Linked DNA regions of Homo sapiens: regions 1 and 3 are each linked to region 2. Evidence: promoter capture Hi-C in 16 types of primary human blood cells and fetal thymus (Javierre and others, 2016). All regions are on one chromosome and are shown on one strand. Each heading gives the region's core, a stretch centred on a gene start or on the middle of the fragment in contact. The rest is flanking DNA. Distances are from core to core; before and after follow the strand shown. Region 1 overlaps KIRREL3 (kirre like nephrin family adhesion molecule 3). Region 2 holds the start of ST3GAL4 (ST3 beta-galactoside alpha-2,3-sialyltransferase 4). Region 3 overlaps RPUSD4 (RNA pseudouridine synthase D4).

Region 1 (2,700 bases), core at 162-2,661, 130 kb before region 2:
CCAGGGCTGGGCATGGAACAAGGTAATAGCAGAACAAGAGGTGGAAACAAGCCCATTTCACATGCAATATGCTACTCTGCCCCCATGTGGAGTTACTTATTAAATAAACAACAATAATACTAAGAGCTAAAATTTAGTGGGTTCTTACTACAGTGCCAAGCTCTGGGACAAGACACTGCATAACTCTTACATGAACTCATTTAAACAGCACACCAGCCCTGTACAACAGCTACTATAATATCTATGACATTAACATCATCCAGCACAGAGAATTTGCACATGGTCACGTGGCCAGTGAATGACGGAGCCAGAAGCCCAGCCAGGCACTCTGACTTCAGGGCCTCCCTTCTTATCCCCTAAACAATATGAGCTCCAGCTGAGAAGTGGGCTTCCCAGTGTCCCAAACCTTTGCAGGGGACCTCTGAAGTCAGCTAGTTCAGGGTTCCCCCCACCCCCAGGTTAGGAGCAGAACTGAAACAGCCTCCAGCACACCTTCCTCTGAGCTACATGCCATCATCCTAAACCTGCGTCTTGCTCCTTGTTCCTCTTTTCTCTCTGTCCCCAACCTCCTTGGAGACACGTCTGTGCGATTGTGCTGCCAAATATATCGGATGCCACATCCTTTAACAATCCCACTTGTGGCCGGGCGCAGTGGCTCACAGCTGTAATCCCAGCACTTTGGAGGCTAAGGTGGGCGGATCACCTGAGGTCAGGCGTTTGAGACCAGCCTGGCCAACATGACGAAACCCCGTCTCCACCAAAAGTACCAAAAAATATCAGCCAGGCGTGGTGGCAGGTGCCTGTAATCCCAGCTATTTAAAAGGCTGAGGCAGGAGAATCGCTTGAACCTGGGAGGCGGAGGCTGCAGTGAGCCTACATTGTGCCATTGCACTCCAGCCTGGGTGACAAGAGCGAGACTCCGTCTCAGAAAAAAAAAAAAAAAAATCCCATTTGCATCTTGCCCCACATCTTCTTAATATAGACCTAAGTGGAGGCGGGGAGGGTCTGAAGAGGGGGAAAGCACACCTACATTAATTAAATCACATATATGTAATTAACACATCTACAGGATTGCCAGATAAAATACAGGATTCCCTGTTAAATGTGAATTTCAGATAAACATACTTACACTACCATTTTTTAATTTATCTGAAATTTACATTTAACAGGGCCTACTGTTCTTTGATTTGTTAAGTCTGGAAACCCTACCCATATCCCAGCTCTGCTGCTTACTAGCTATGTGATGTTGGGCAAGTAACTTGACTACTTTGTGGCTGTTTCCTCACCTCCAAAATATGCATCGTCATTGTATCTACCTTATATAGAGCTGTGAGGATTAAAGGATATTTGTAAAGTACACAGAAGAGTTCTTGCTGTGTGGTAAGCCCTATATCAATGTTAGCTATTATTCATATTATTGGTGCTGTTTTTTTATGACTGCATCCAAGGTAACATACTAGGCAATGGGAGACAGGCAAAGAGGCGCCAGGACTCCTACCCTGCAACTGTAGGGAACCTGAAACAGGTCCACAAGTCAATGCAATAGAGATGTGGTGAGGACCAGTGTAAGAGGTGCTCAGGTGGGGAGGGGGCTTCTAATTCAGTGGGATCAGGCAAGGCACCAGGCAACAAGTATTTATTAAGTGCTCACTATGCCAGGCACTGTACTAAGTACTAGAGAGAGAATTTGGCAAGGACCAGCCCTCAAGGAGCTCACAGCCTCAGGGGAACAACAGGTGGTAATGGCGCCAGGCACCACATGTACCTGCTGAGGCGGGCACATGGTCTTATGGCAGTGCAGAGGCTGCAGGTGGGAGAGTCAGGGGTTGAGATTGAGAGAAGACTTTGTGGAGGAGGTGACAATAGCCTGAGTCTTAAAGAATAACCAAGAGTTAACAAGGCATGATAGGCCTTTGAGCTGATTGAAAAGAGGCTGGGATTCCAGCCAGTTAAGACTCAGGCAAGGAGATTCCCAGCAAAGGGAACTTCACAAGCCAAAGCGTGTATTTGTAAAAGGGCAGGCTATCCTCACAGAAGAGTTAATGGTCACACAGGAGAAAGCTGCAGAGATGAGACCTCACTGGAGAGAACCGGGGAAGGCCCCCATGATGAGGAATTGATTTTTGTGCTGGAGCAGTGGGAACCATTGAACATTGTGAGCAGCAGACCGAGCTTCCAGAACAGTCACCTGGCCATAGTGGAGGGAGAATGGATCGGAGGGAAGTGGAGAGACAGTTGATGCCGTGGGCCCAGTTCTGAATCAAACAGCAGGGGACTACTGGGTTACATCAGTTAGCTTTTGCTGCTGCAGGGGAGAAAAAGTAATATATTTTCCTCATCCATTACAAGGTTTGCAGCTGACACCCGTGTAACAAACGATAGATTAAGAAGAGAAAAGTGCAACAGATGTATTTAACCAAAGTTTTATGTGAGCTTTCAGAAATGAAGGCCCAAATGCCATGGGAAAATTGTGTATTTGTAGGCTTATGTTCAACAAAGAATGGGCAGTTGTGCAGAAATGTGATTGGACAAAAAAGGGGGTATGACCTCATGGTAACAAACCAGAAGAACTTAGCAAGGCCTTGCCTGCATTCCTCTTTGAGTTCCTGTACACCGTTTCTTTCCTCTGAGTATAGGGCAGGATCCCTCTGGAATGAGGATCTCATGACCTAGTTTCAGGGGAGATGGGTCAAAGAATTT
Region 2 (2,700 bases), core at 162-2,661:
CCCGGAACCCACTCTAGAATTATCGGGCAGCTTTGGAGAGTAACAGCATGGGAGAAATATTACCAATAGTGAATATTTATACAGCTCTCCCTCCGTGCAGGCGCCTTTCAAAGCACTTAGCATATATCAACTCATTTAAAATCCCCCTGGCAGATGCCAGGGCCAGGACCTAGAGGAGGTGGAGTCTGTAGGACGGGTCCGGCACAGCTCAGGAGACAGTGACACGGGTGTGTGTCTCTTGTGAGAACTCAGCCTGTACCAGGCCTGTTCCCAAAGTTCAAAAAGAATGAGTCCGCCTGAGCCTGGCTTCCACGCGGTACCCGCCTCCGGCGGTGGAAAGTACAGGCTTCCCCAAGAGGCCTGTGGGGGGTGCCAGCTTGTGGGTGGCCATGAGGTCAGACAGGGCACAGCTGGGCACCCGAACACTGCCTACACTCCCAGCCTTCTGGCAGCAGTTCCCTTAAGCCAGGCCCTCAGGACCCAGGCTGGGGAGCAGAGGAAGCAGCCACAGTAGGTCAGGCCTCAAGCTGCCCAGACAGAGCCTCCCCCCAGGACTGGGAATGGAGGGGCAGTGCTGGCAGACATGTTGGCAGTTCTGGGCTGGCCGGGAGGTCCCTGCCAGCCAGGTCCCCGAGGAAACACCCACAGCAGACAGCTGAGCCCACTCCCCCCATCGCATCCCTCCCACTGCTCACCACCCATGCAGCCCTGAGGCACAGTGGCCTAGGCCTGACGACCCCCATAACGTGGCCCTAGGACCCTGGGCACAGCCGGCCTCCCACTGACAACTCCACCTTTGGGTCCTGCTCAGCGACCTTGCGACTCCTGCACACAGGCGGACCCCGCAAAGCCTGTCACCTCCAGCACAGTCAGCTCCCAAGTGCTGGACCTGACCGGGGTAGTTGTGGGAGAAACCATCGCTCGAGGATGCTGGAGGTGGGGGCCGCCGCTTCAGTCCGGGCGCAGGGCTGGGGGATTGGGGGCGGAAACTTTCCGCAGAACTGTCCCGCTTGCTCACTCCAAGGGAACGGAGAGGATCCGGCTTCCCGCGAAAATCTGGTCCAGGGAAAGGGACCCCGGAAAGCAGCTCCGCAGGGCTGTGGCAGCCCCACCCCGACCCGCGCTGCGCCCACGTGCAGGGCCCGACCCCCTCCGGGAGGCGCGGCGCCGGCTGGGGTCAGGCGGCCGAGGACCCCGCGGCTCCCCGCCCCGCCCCGCCCCGCGGGCCCCCGCGCACCGCCGCCGCGTACTCACCCTCACGGGTGGAGCGGGGCGGGGCAGCACGGTTCCGCGCGCAGCTCCGATCCGCTAGGCGCACCGACCGGCGGCGCAGCGCTGGCGCGACGGCTCGACTCGGCCGGGTCCCTGTCCCGGGCGCGGGTCCGGCCTGGGAGCGGGCGAGTCCGCCTGCAGGGGAGGCGGGGACCCGGGCCCGGGTTGGGGGCGGGGAAGGGGCTGGACACGCTTGCGCACACGGCGGCCCGACTCCCAGGAGCTCCCGGGAGGGGTAGAAAGGGCGGGGTGGAGGAGGGGGAAGGGCGGGGGTGATGCCGCGCGGTCGCAGGCTTGGGATGGTGTTCGCGCCTCCGAGACCCGGACAGAGGCAAGCAGGGGCGCCGTGGGTGCCAGAGAGGCGGAAGAGGAGGCCTGATGGGGTGAGCACAGGGCCAGGGCAGGCACTGCCTGTGAATGGCGCCAGGGTGGGTATGCCCAGCGCAGCCAAGGCGCTCGCTCCCGGGAACAATGAGAATCAAGAAAGGGTGCAGTGCTCTATCCCACGGGGAACGGTGTCCTTCCCTCACTGGGGAAACTGGGGCAGGGTCCTGTTCCGGGAGCCTATGCTTCCCGTGCCCCATGCACGCAAGGCAGCCAGTCAGTCCCCTGGGCCCAGACGTGGGCCCTTCCTCTGCTTCGGTTGGGGCCTGCTGCCCCTAAACTGCTCTCTCTGCACCCCTCACTTGCATACTCTTTATCTTGGCCTCAGAAAGTTTCTCAGTTTCCTTTCCGTTATTGAAGGCGCCAGGCATCCTGTCTCCAGGAAGAAACCCCTGGGCCCCTGACCCTGGTTCTTTGGACCCAGGCATCCCCCCAAATAAACCTGGGAACTGCCCAGGCTGAAGAACAGTTCAGAAGTCACCCTACAGGACAATCCACAGCCCCTTAGGCCAGTCCCTTTCACAGGTCAGCACAGTGTTTCCGGAGCCCCACGTATCAACAGCCCAGTGCCGGGAGCGCCAGGGGCTCCAAGGAAACTATCAGACCCATTCCCTGTCCCCAGGAAGCTTACCATCCAGCGGCACAGAGAAGGCTCACCATGGACTCCATTCAAGAACGAGGCAGGATAGGATGTGAATAAGTGCAAGGTGTGAGTGACTGACAGTAAGTGCAAGGGGGTTCAGAGAAGTGGCAGCTCCAAGCCTGCTTCTGCTGAAGCTGGAGGGCTTATCTGTCAAGAACCCCCAACTCAGGAAGCTCTGCTCCAAGTGAGCTGAGTAAGGAGAGTCTGCCTCCAAGTTGTTCCTCTGCAGGTGACTGTGCTCCATGCTAAATCATTCCTTGCACGGGCAGAAGCTGTTTGGCATTGCACCAGTGTCTGATTTTGTTTGAATATGGTGCCTTTGGCTTAATCAGTCAGACATGCATTCAACAACTATTTATTTATTTATTTATTTATTTATTTATTTATTATTTTGAGACAGA
Region 3 (2,700 bases), core at 201-2,700, 150 kb after region 2:
AAAAAAAAGATATTTTCTATTTCCTTGTATAACAGTGATATTGGCTATCAATTTACATGTTTTTTACATGTTTATTGGCTATTTGAGTTTCCCTTTTGGGAACAGACTGATTATTTCTTTTGCCTATTTTTCTACAGGGTTGTTTATTATTATTATTTTTTTTTATTTAAGACCGTGCCTGGCCTTTTTTTTTTGAGATGGAGTCTTGCTGTGTCACCCAGGCTGGAGGGCAGTGGCACAATCTTGGCTCACTGCAACCTCCTCCCTGGTTCAAGTGGTTCTCATGTTTCAGCTAGCTGGAATTACAGGCACATGCCACCATGCCCAGCTAATTTTTGTATTTTTAGTAGAGATGGGGTTTCAGCCTGTTGGCCAGGCTGGTCTTGAACCCCTGACCTAAAGTGATCTGTCCATCAAAGTGCTAGGATTACAGCGCTTACAGCTCACAGGCGTGAGCCACTGTGTCTGGCCCAGGTTGTTTATTCTTTTCTATTTGATTTGTAAGTATTCATTTTATATTTTGAATGTTAGTCCTTTTTAGATTACAGATTTTGCAGATACTTTGTGAATCTGAGGAGCCCTTTAAAAATATGTATGATTGAGACTTACCCACAGAAGTTCTCATTCGTAAGTGTGGTGGTTGTGGGGATTGGCATCTGTATTTTAAAATTTGATATACAATCAAATTTAAGAACTATGATAAGATTATGGAGAATGGAGGAATTTAGGACAGTAGCTAAGACCTCAAAAAGATGTGTGTTCAACTCTCAACTGTGTCATTTAACAGCTGTGGGGCCTTGGGCAGGTTATTAAATGTCCATAAGCTTTGTTTTCTTCATCTGAAAAATGGAAACAGTAGGATTTATGAGATAGTTAAATAAGATTGATTCTTGTGAAATGTTTAACACAGTACCTAGTTCATAGGAAAAGTTAAAAAATAAAAAATAGAGACTTATTTTTCTATTCAAGCAATCAAAATATTAAGACTATAAAATACATGTTATGTTATTTGTGAAAAATGTCCATTAAGGTTCAAAATTGGTAACCATTCTCGGTATCAGGTTCATGGAGGAATTGAAATCAATCAGTTGGGTCTTGCTGATGGAACATTCTTGAGTTGTAGTGTCATATCATTAGGAAGGACATTCTTGTCACAGAAGATCTACAAAATCTGTAAAATACGATAAAATGTACCAGATAGTAGCTGAAACTGAAGTGGAGTGTCTGCGTTGTGAAATAGTGTGTGTGAGTAGGATTTTGACCCCGTGGTTAGTGATTATACAACCGACCACCAGGTACCCAGATGGACTTTTCCATCATTGACCTGAAAGAGGCATAAATTTACAGACAGATTAAACAGTCTTCTACCTGTCTGTGAGGTCATGAGGTCATGGGAGGGAGAACACCAACAGAAGTGATTTGGAATGAGTTATTGAGTTGTGGTTGTGGTACCTATGACTTCTTTCTTTCTTTTTTTAGACGGAGTCTTGCTGTGTCTCCCAGGCTGGAGTGCAGTGGCATAATCTTGGCCCACTGCAACCTCCACCTCCTGGATTCAAGCGATTCTCATGCCTCAGCCTCCCAAGTAGCTGGAATTACAGGCACGCGCCACCACGCCTGGCTGATTTTTTTTTTGTATTTTTAGTAGAGATGGGGTTTCACCATGTTGGCCAGGCTGGTCTTGAACTCCTGACCTGAAGTGATCCACCCGCCTTGGCCTCCCAAAGTATTGGGATTACATGTGTGAGCCACCACGCCTGTCCCCTGTGACTTCTTCGGGTACAGTTCCCTCCTGTTTTACCTATGTGGCAAATGAGCCAGGAACGGTTCTCTGAATGTTTTATTAGGTTCATTCATCCAATTATTCATTTGTTCATTTACCATGCAGTCAGAATCTACAATCTTTTATTATTTGAAAAAAAATACAAAACTATATTACCATAATTTTATTTTAACTGTACATATCCATTTTTAAAGACTGGAAAGACCATGTTATTAATGTAATTTTTTTCTTTTTTTACCCCAAATATTCTACAATTAGCATGTATGACTTTAGTAGTAAAAAAGATAAGCTTGTGAAATCTATCAGCTCTCAGGCTAAGCATTACACCAAGAGAATCTTGCACGATCCTTCAATCATAAGAAATCACATGTTAGTGCAGAAGGTCCAGCGTGAAATCCTCTAAGTGGCCAAATCTAGGAGTTCTTCTCTGGCTTGGTTGGCTAAAGCAGTGATCTGTGTCACCCCCAGGGCCATCACTGTGCATGTCCCCATGCCCTCAGCAGGAGTCGTGGACATCCCCATTGTGGAGAAGGAGGCGCAAGGCCAGCAGCAACACCACAAGGTGAGCGAGCAGCCTCCCTGAGGCATGGGTTGCTGCTCTTCCTTGGGAATCATATCTTGATTTCTTTGGCTTCAGATGACATTGTCCCCGAGCTACCGCATGGACGATGGGAAAATGGTGAAAGTGCGGCGCAGCCGGAATGCGCAAGTTGCTGTAACTCAGTACCAGGTGCTCAGCAGCACTCTCTCCTCCGCCCTCGTGGAGCTCCAGCCCATCACTGGTGAGAGTGTCACTTTTCCGCAGTGGGATCACAAAACCCTGTGCCACCAGGTTTTGTCCAGGGCCTCGTTCTGAGCAGCTAGTAGTGTGGCTGACTTGTGTGAGAATGTGCTTCTGGTGCTGATCTGAGGCCGGG

The links. Contacts are between HindIII fragments. The CHiCAGO score rates a contact against its expected background, and 5 or more counts as called.
Region 1: a contact is called between a fragment that was not itself captured here and the fragment with the promoter of ST3GAL4 in region 2, in 1 of 17 cell types (neutrophils). The highest score is 8.4, in neutrophils.
Region 3: a fragment that was not itself captured here is called in contact with the fragment with the promoter of ST3GAL4 in region 2 in 1 of 17 cell types (neutrophils); the score reaches 9.4 in neutrophils.

Annotation. Positions count from the first base shown.
Region 1 is chr11:126,483,059-126,485,758 of GRCh38, reverse strand. All of the region lies in intron 4 of KIRREL3 (kirre like nephrin family adhesion molecule 3), which reads left to right. Among named protein-coding and RNA genes, the nearest start is that of KIRREL3-AS1, 59 kb to the left of the region's middle. The HindIII fragment of the contact is 6,543 bases long and covers 1-2,700 here.
Region 2 is chr11:126,354,397-126,357,096 of GRCh38, reverse strand. It overlaps ST3GAL4 (ST3 beta-galactoside alpha-2,3-sialyltransferase 4), which reads right to left and starts at 1,411. Exons shown (of 11, transcript NM_001254757.2): 1 at 1,255-1,411. GSEC (G-quadruplex forming sequence containing lncRNA) reads left to right here and starts at 1,510. Exons shown (of 2, transcript NR_033839.1): 1 at 1,510-1,655. RefSeq lists enhancers at 453-602, 290-1,033, 1,034-1,775, 1,776-2,519 and a silencer at 1,193-1,572. The HindIII fragment of the contact is 3,511 bases long and covers 1-2,284 here.
Region 3 is chr11:126,205,333-126,208,032 of GRCh38, reverse strand. RPUSD4 (RNA pseudouridine synthase D4) reads left to right here. Exons shown (of 7, transcript NM_032795.3): 4 at 2,252-2,345; 5 at 2,421-2,565. Among named protein-coding and RNA genes, the nearest start is that of RPUSD4, 5.0 kb to the left of the region's middle. The HindIII fragment of the contact is 1,248 bases long and covers 827-2,074 here.